Linked DNA regions of Homo sapiens: region 1 is linked to region 2. Evidence: promoter capture Hi-C in 16 types of primary human blood cells and fetal thymus (Javierre and others, 2016). All regions are on one chromosome and are shown on one strand. Each heading gives the region's core, a stretch centred on a gene start or on the middle of the fragment in contact. The rest is flanking DNA. Distances are from core to core; before and after follow the strand shown.

The links. Contacts are between HindIII fragments. The CHiCAGO score rates a contact against its expected background, and 5 or more counts as called.
Region 1: a fragment that was not itself captured here is called in contact with the fragment with the promoter of RXFP4 in region 2 in 1 of 17 cell types (megakaryocytes); the score reaches 5.6 in megakaryocytes.

What each region holds. Positions count from the first base shown.
Region 1 is chr1:155,721,074-155,725,389 of GRCh38, forward strand. DAP3 (death associated protein 3) reads left to right here. Exons shown (of 13, transcript NM_004632.4): 4 at 444-545; 5 at 4,309-4,316. Among named protein-coding and RNA genes, the nearest start is that of DAP3, 34 kb to the left of the region's middle. The HindIII fragment of the contact is 2,795 bases long and covers 1,531-4,316 here.
Region 2 is chr1:155,939,234-155,943,670 of GRCh38, forward strand. RXFP4 (relaxin family peptide/INSL5 receptor 4) reads left to right here and starts at 2,405. Exons shown (of 1, transcript NM_181885.3): 1 at 2,405-3,854. The coding sequence starts at 2,477. The coding sequence ends at 3,601. RefSeq lists a silencer at 1,845-2,139 and an enhancer at 2,459-2,958. The HindIII fragment of the contact is 9,136 bases long and covers 1-3,786 here.

The DNA of each region.
Region 1 (4,316 bases), core at 1,678-4,177, 220 kb before region 2:
CCCTGTAATCGCAGCATTTTGGGAGGCTGAGGCAGGCAGATCACCTGAGGTCAGGAGTTTAAGACCAGCCTGGCCAACATGGTGAAACCCCGTCTCTACTAGAAATACAAAAATTAGCCGGGTGCGGTGGCAGATTGTAATGCCAGCTACTGGGAGGCTGAGGTAGGAGAATTGCTTGTACCCAGGAGGCGGAGGTTGCAGTGAGCTAAGATCGCACCATTGCACTCCTGCCTGGGTGACAAAAGTAAAACTCCATTTTAAAAATAATATATATATATGTATGTGTATATATATATGTATGTATGTGTATATATATATGTATGTATGTATATATATATATATATACACATAGACATACATATATACACACACATAGATAAGACAAAAAAGAAAGTCTTGGTCACTTTGTCACCATTATACCTGTTTGCACTCTTATTTCCTAGGCCAAGCATGGGGATCAGCACGAGGGTCAGCACTACAACATCTCCCCCCAGGATTTGGAGACTGTATTTCCCCATGGCCTTCCTCCTCGCTTTGTGATGCAGGTGCTCAAGACAGGGAATGGAATTGGAGGGAGCCCAGAATACAAGCTGCTGCTAGCAAAGGGGTGGGGCTAAATGAGAAGAAAATTTAAAAAGATGAAATTTAATCTGAAAAACAGAAATTCATGTGTTGATTACCTTTTGTGACTAGTACAATTACTTTAAGCTCATGTTTAAACAATATTGATGTTTTCCTCCTTGTATAGCCCAAGAAGATTCCAGTAATTTCAGCATCAAATAACTGTTTTAAATGAACTTAAAATTTGCCTTGGCAAAATATCATGAAAATAGTTAATATGCTGCACAAAAGCAAAATCATAGTACACTCCTGAGCTAAATAGAAGCAATATTTTGATTAGATGCATTGGTTTTTATTCTCTTGTGGATTTTGTGAAAATGTTATCAAACTTGCCTGTGCAGGTGAGTTTTAGCATGCGAGCCAGAGGATCTCATTTCTTTAGTGTGGTTTATTTCGGGAAATTAGATGAATAATAAGGGCATAACAGGCCGGGCGCTATGGCTCACGCCTGTAATCCCAGCTGCACTTTGGGAGGCCAAGGTGGAAGGATCACTTGGGCCCAGGAGTTCGAGACCAGTCTAGGCAACATAGGGAGACCTGTCTCTACAAAAATTAAAAATTAAAAATTAGCTGGGCATGATGCACACCTGTAGTCACAGCTACTCAGGTGGCTGAGGTTGGAGGATCGCTTGAGCTCAGGAGGTGAGGGCTTCAGTGAGCCATGATTGCACCACTGTACCCCAGCCTGGGCAACAGAGCAAGACCTTATCTCAAGCATAAAATAAAATAAGGTATAACAGGCCAGGCAAGGTAGTTTATGCCTGTAGTCTCAGCACTTTGGGAGGTGAAGGTGGGAGGATTGTTTGAGCGCAGGAGTTCAAGACCAGCTGGGCAATATAATGAGACTGTATCTTTATTTAGAAAAGAAAAACATGGGCAACCCTCTCGGGTCCCCTTCCACACTGTGGAAGCTTTGTTCTTTTGCTCTTCTCAATAAATCTTGCTGCTGCTCACTCAAAAAAAAAGAAAAACATTTAGTCATGTGTGGTAGCTGCTTCGGAGGCTGAGGCAGGAGGATGGCTTGAGCCCAGGAGTTCAGGCTGCAGTGAGCTACGATAGTGCCACGGCACTCCAACTCAGACAACAGAGTGAGACCCTGTCTCCAAAAAACAATTTTAATTAAAAAAAATTTTGTTGAAGAAATCATCTGCAGTGGCACTTTAAACTGTTCCAAGACATACACAGTACAATGTTTATTCAGCTTCAGAGCTGTGAGGTTCTATCTTTAATTAACTATTTGAAGTTGTTTTCAGACTGGCTTAACCAACAATGCTCTGTAAGAACTTACAGGTTCTTTTCATAATTTTCATTTACATGAAGGCCTACTTCCTCACCATTGTTTGTGGATATTAGCATTGTCATACTGCCTAATATGACTTTTTTTTTTTTAAATACTGCTCCTTTTGGAGCAGACCTAACTCACGGACAGTGTGCCCAGGGTAGCTGACTTTATTTTATTACTATTATTTTAATTATAGAGACAGGGTCTCACTCTGACAACCAGGCTGGAGTACAGTGGCGTGACCACAGCCCACAGCACACTCTACATCTCTGACCTCCTGGGCTCAAGCGATCCTCCTGTATTGGCATCTCAAAGTGCTGGGATTACAGGTGTGAGCCACAGCTCCCAGCCCTGATGTGACTTTTTTTTGAAATGGAGTTTCACTTTTGTCGCCCAGGCTGGAATGCAGTGATGCGATCTCAGCTCACTGCAACCTACGCCTCCTGGGTTCAAGTGATTCTCCTGCCTCAGCCTCCCAAAGAGCTGGGATTACAGGTGCTCGCCACCACGCCTGGCTAATTTTTATATTTTTAGTAGACATGGGGATTTGCCATATTGGCCAGGCTGGTCTCCAACTCCTAACCTCAGGTGATCCACCTGTCTTGGCCTCCCAAAGTGCTGGGATTACAGGGATGAGCCACCACGCCCAGCCAACATTTGTTTTAATACCTTTATCATGTTTTTTTGAACATTGAGCCTTCCATTAAGTTTGGAATTGCCTGTCAAATCCTACACCAATTCAATTGTTTTGTTAGGATTTCTTTTAAAAATATCAACACTGGCTGGGTACAATGGCTCACGCCTGTAATTCCAGCACTTTGGGAAGCTGAGGTGGGCAGATTACTTAAGGCCAGGAGTTCAAGATGAGCCTGGCCAACATGGTGAAACTCCATCTCTACTAAAAATACAAAAATTAGCTGGGCGTGGTGGCACACGCCTGTAGTCACAGCTACTTGTGAGGCTGAAGCAGGAGAATCGCTTGAACCCGGGAGGCGGAGGTTGCAGTGAGCTGAGATCGTGTCACTGCACTCCAGCCTGTGCGACAGAGCGAGACTCTGTCTCAAAAAAAAAAAAAAAAAATTAACACTATTTTAGTTATACTTACAAACAGTATTTGTTAGATATTCTTATTAGTAGACATATTTTAATATTTTCTTTGCAAATCAGTTTCACACACATTAGTACTTCCCAAATTTCCCACCAAAGTATTCTGGTAGCAAAAGGGGAATTAAACTCTGAAAGGTTAGTATGCTGGAGGTATGAGGTATGGATGGCCTTAGAGTTGTGAGGCAGCTGGTCACACCTGCTCCTGAGCCGCCATGTATTTAGTTCTAGAGAAAAAAGTCTAAATGGTTAAAGTAATAAAAATAAATTTTAGGCCAGGTGCGGTGGCTCACGCCTATAATCCCAGCACCTTGGGAGGCTGAGACGGGTGGATCATGAGGTCAGGAGTTCGAGACCAGCCTGACCAACATGGTGAAAGCCTGTCTCTACTAAAATTACAAAAATCAGCCTGGCATGGTGGTGGCACCTGTAATCCCAGCTACTGAGGAGACTGAGGCAGAAGAATTGCTTGAACCCCGGAGGCGGAGGTTGCAGTGAGCCGAGATCACACCACTGCACTCTAGCCTGGGTGACAGAGTGAGACTCTGTCTCAAAAAAAGAAAAAAAAAAAAAATCAACTAAAAATAAATTTTAGGCCAGGTGCAGTGGCTCACGCCTGTAATCCCTGCACTTTGGGAGGCCAAGACGGGGGTGTCACCTGAGGTCGGGAGTTTGAGACCAGCCTGACCAACATGGAGAAACTCCTTCTGTACTAAAAATACAAAATAGCCGGGCATGGTGGTGGGTGCCTGTAATCCCAGCTACTCGGGAGGCTGAGGCAGGAGAATCACTTGAACTGGGAGGCAGAGGTTGTGGTGAGCCGAGATCGTGCCATTGCACTCCAGCCTGGGCAACAAGAGTGAAACTCCGTCTCAAAAAAAAAAAAAGAAAAAAAATTTAAAGAGTTAATGTTTATTGAATTATTAACTTGTGTCAGAAATTTTAAGCATTTTTCTATATGCTTTCCATATTTACAGTGGCCCTAAGTGGTATACATAATTTTGTTATGAGATATATCAATTATTTATAGATTTCAGCTGAGATAGAATATATGCTTCAGTAATAGGAATAATCAAAAGCTGACTATCATGTTACTTAGTGCGGAATAATGTATTTCAGTTTTTAGCTAAGTTATATGGATAGATTTTCAAACTCAGTACCAACCCAGCTTCTCCTAACTGAGTAAATTAGAGGCATGCAATCTGATGGTCTTGGTTGCCACTTTAGGCAGAGTATATATACCACCCCCCACCCACTCCTTCCACACCCACCCACTCTTTCCTTCTTTCCTACTTTATCAGGTGAAGAC
Region 2 (4,437 bases), core at 1,155-3,654:
GTGGCACGATCTCGGCTCACTGCAAGCTCCACCTCCCGGGTTCATACCATTCTCCTGCCTCAGCCTCCCGAGTAGCTGGGACTACAGGCACCTGCCACCACACCCGGCTAATTTTTGTATTTTTTTTTTTTAGAGATGGGGTTTCACCATGTTAGCCAGGATGGTCTCGATCTCCTGACATGCCTGTAATCCCAGCACTTTGGGAGGCCAAGGCAGGAGGATCACCTGAGGTCATTTCAAGAATATTTTTGATGCTAGGCGTGGTGGCTTATGGCTGTAATCCCAGCACTTTGGGAGGGTGAGGTGAGAGGGTTGCTTGAGCCCAGGAGTTCAAGACAATCCTGGGCAACATAGGGATACCCCATCTCTCCTAAAAATACAAAAATTAGCCTGTGTGGTAGCACATTCCTGTGGCTGAGGTAGGAGGATCACCTGAGCCTGGGGAGGTCGAGGCACTGAGCCAAGATTGTGCCACTGCACTCCAGCCTGGGTGACAGAGTGAGACCTCTTCTCAACCAAAAAAAAAAGAAAAAAAGAAAAAAAATTTTTTTTTTTTTTTGAGATGGAGTCTCGCTCTGTCGCCCAGGCTGGAGTGCAGTGGTGTGATCTCAGCTCACCAAAATCTCTGCCTCCCGGGTTCAAGTGATTCTCCTGCCTCAGCCTCCCGAGTAGCTGTGATTACAGGCACTCGCCACCACGCGCCACTAATTTTGTATTTTTAGTAGAGACGGGCTTTCCCCATGTTGGTCAGGCTGGTCTTGAACTCCCGACCTCAGGTGATTCGCTCACCTCGGCCTCCCAAAGTGCTGGGATTACAGGCATGAGCCACCTCGTCTGGCCAAGCAGTTATCTTAATTGCCAGATTAGCAGGGTGATTCTGGGTGGGCAGAGGAGTAGACATGGCCCCGAGAGACAGTGATGACACAGTCACACAGGAGCAGCCATGAGGCCAGAAGGTAGCCTGTGGGGCTCACCTGACCTTGGGCTGGGCACTCCCCTTCTGCCACCCCCTTTATACTCATCCCTGGTTCGAAAGCCCCAACATGTTGGCACCCAGCCTGTATCACTCTCACCTCTGGGTTTCTCCTATGTGTTCACAAGCCCACTGCTGATTTATTGTCGCAAAGGGCCCCTCTCTTCCCTCAGCACTCCAAAGGAACTGAACATCGAACGTTATCTTAATTAGCTGGCAGAGGGCAAGAAGGGGCTGAATATATTGGAATCCTTGAGAAAGCCTTACTCTTTTACCTATCCACCTCCTGCCTTCTCTTTGTCCCCACCTCAGCTCCTTCTGCAGTAGGTAGAGATGTAGGCAATGAAAGGGGAGGGCCCAATGAAGCATTTTTTTTTTCCAGTTATGATTGAGATCATGGGGAGACAGGATGAGGTGTGGTGAGGGCGTATCTCAGGATCCTTAGCTCTGACATGGGGTTTGCAGGAGAGAGTAGGGGGACCGCTGAGCTCTGTCCACAGACTAGAGCAGGAAAGGGGGGAAAGGCGGCGATAGAGGTTAGCAGGAATGTTTAATTATCAGGAGCAGGAACAGAACTGAGGGCATGCCCAGGTCCACACAGGCCCTCATAGGCCCAGTGTTCCCAGTGGGGAGGAAACAGGAAGCTGTGACTTCCTCTCTCTTTTCCCTCCCTGCTCTTAGCCTCAAGGTCACTGCTGCTGAGATGAATTCCAACCTGTTTTAGTTGGCACTGTTCCCTGGGCATGGTAATAGCCTCTCAGTACCCTTCTGCCACAAACACCCCAAACTTCTCCTTTGAAATAATATTCATACAAATTGCTATTTCACATGTGTTCTCTCATTGCATCATGCCACTCCTGTGAAGCAGACTTACCTGAAAATTTTAAGCAAGAAAACAGGCTTAGGGGAGTAAAGTAACTCTCCCAGTCACACGGCTAGTGAGCAGCAGGTCTGGGACTCCGCAGCCTCCGCTCTTTCCTCTCTTGGACACCCATGCTGATTCCCTGCCTCTATGCCACCTCCCAGGCCCCTTGCTTTGGGCCCCAAGGGAACACTTTCTGCAGAGGAGGGAGGCCTCTGCACTGTTAGGAACAGAGGCAGCTCTAGTTTGGTTCCTGTCATCTCTGGGACAGGGAACCTCCAGCTCTCTCCCTGGGGTGGAGGCTTGGGGCTGCCCTCCATAGCGGGGTAACTCTCCCTTCTCCCCTCCCTCTCTGCCATTTAGAGCCCCTCTTACAGGCGGGCGCATGCACATATACCCTGGCATTCAGGCTGTGCCTCGCCCTGCCCCACCTACCACCAATCTTGACCAACAGGAAGGTGGTGGGTTGTCCTTTCCACACCCCTCCCTCTGAGGTGTGGGCGTGGGCCAGGGCTCACCAGAGGCCCCAGAGAAGCACTTAATTCTACAGCCTCCTTCCTAGAGCCTTCAGTGGCCTCTGCCAGTCTGGCAGACACTTGCAGACCTCTCTTCTCAGCACCACCAATCTCTGATGCCCTGCGATGCCCACACTCAATACTTCTGCCTCTCCACCCACATTCTTCTGGGCCAATGCCTCCGGAGGCAGTGTGCTGAGTGCTGATGATGCTCCGATGCCTGTCAAATTCCTAGCCCTGAGGCTCATGGTTGCCCTGGCCTATGGGCTTGTGGGGGCCATTGGCTTGCTGGGAAATTTGGCGGTGCTGTGGGTACTGAGTAACTGTGCCCGGAGAGCCCCTGGCCCACCTTCAGACACCTTCGTCTTCAACCTGGCTCTGGCGGACCTGGGACTGGCACTCACTCTCCCCTTTTGGGCAGCCGAGTCGGCACTGGACTTTCACTGGCCCTTCGGAGGTGCCCTCTGCAAGATGGTTCTGACGGCCACTGTCCTCAACGTCTATGCCAGCATCTTCCTCATCACAGCGCTGAGCGTTGCTCGCTACTGGGTGGTGGCCATGGCTGCGGGGCCAGGCACCCACCTCTCACTCTTCTGGGCCCGAATAGCCACCCTGGCAGTGTGGGCGGCGGCTGCCCTGGTGACGGTGCCCACAGCTGTCTTCGGGGTGGAGGGTGAGGTGTGTGGTGTGCGCCTTTGCCTGCTGCGTTTCCCCAGCAGGTACTGGCTGGGGGCCTACCAGCTGCAGAGGGTGGTGCTGGCTTTCATGGTGCCCTTGGGCGTCATCACCACCAGCTACCTGCTGCTGCTGGCCTTCCTGCAGCGGCGGCAACGGCGGCGGCAGGACAGCAGGGTCGTGGCCCGCTCTGTCCGCATCCTGGTGGCTTCCTTCTTCCTCTGCTGGTTTCCCAACCATGTGGTCACTCTCTGGGGTGTCCTGGTGAAGTTTGACCTGGTGCCCTGGAACAGTACTTTCTATACTATCCAGACGTATGTCTTCCCTGTCACTACTTGCTTGGCACACAGCAATAGCTGCCTCAACCCTGTGCTGTACTGTCTCCTGAGGCGGGAGCCCCGGCAGGCTCTGGCAGGCACCTTCAGGGATCTGCGGTTGAGGCTGTGGCCCCAGGGCGGAGGCTGGGTGCAACAGGTGGCCCTAAAGCAGGTAGGCAGGCGGTGGGTCGCAAGCAACCCCCGGGAGAGCCGCCCTTCTACCCTGCTCACCAACCTGGACAGAGGGACACCCGGGTGAAGGGCGCAAGCTGAACACACTCCTCTTTCTGAGATCCACCAAGTGTAGGATCCTTGAGTCCTGGGGAGAAGCTGCCCTCTCTGCCAGGCTGCAGTGCCCTCAGGGAAAAGTCTGATCTTTGATCCCCAACTCTGGGTGTGGTGAATGGGGGAGGCGGGGGCTCAGATCAGAGCTGGATGTGACAAAGCTTAAGTCTTTATTTGGAGATGGGAAAGAAGAGGATCTGAGAATAAACCTCTGGATTATCCACAAATTGTCTTGACCTTTTATCCCAGTTCCACCTCCAGTTCAGTATGGAACAAAAGGATTCGTTGCTCCATTTCTGCTTTCTGCAAGAATACCTAGGAAAACTTCCCTAAGGGTTCTAGGCTAATGAATCAGAGGTCAGTGCCCATCTCTCTCTGTACCCACCCCCCACCTCAAAACAGGGTATCCCTTGTCTTTCTCCGGTATCAAGGCCAAAAATGCCAGCTTCCCCTGTCCTCACCTTACCATCTCAGTGGTGACCACTGAAACTTGCTGCCTGCAGAGGCCTCAGCTGCAAAAGCTGTAGTTCCCTTGAAGGGATGCCAGGTGTGGGGTATTGCTGGAATTTCCAGCACCTGCCAGGCCCTGGGTGTAAAACCCTGGTGCTGACGGGAGTGCCTGTGTGTCTCCCTTTAAATCAGGATTTGAAAGAAGTGAAGATAATGACAAGTCAAAGACATGGGTGGGGTGAAGGGAGGTGAGCGATTAAAGAGGGGAGGGGGCTGGGAGAACAGGCTGCAGGTAGAGCCAGAAAAGCAGAGACCTCAGAAAGTGGTGCTAGTCCTCCCTGCCCCAAATGCAAAGCCCAG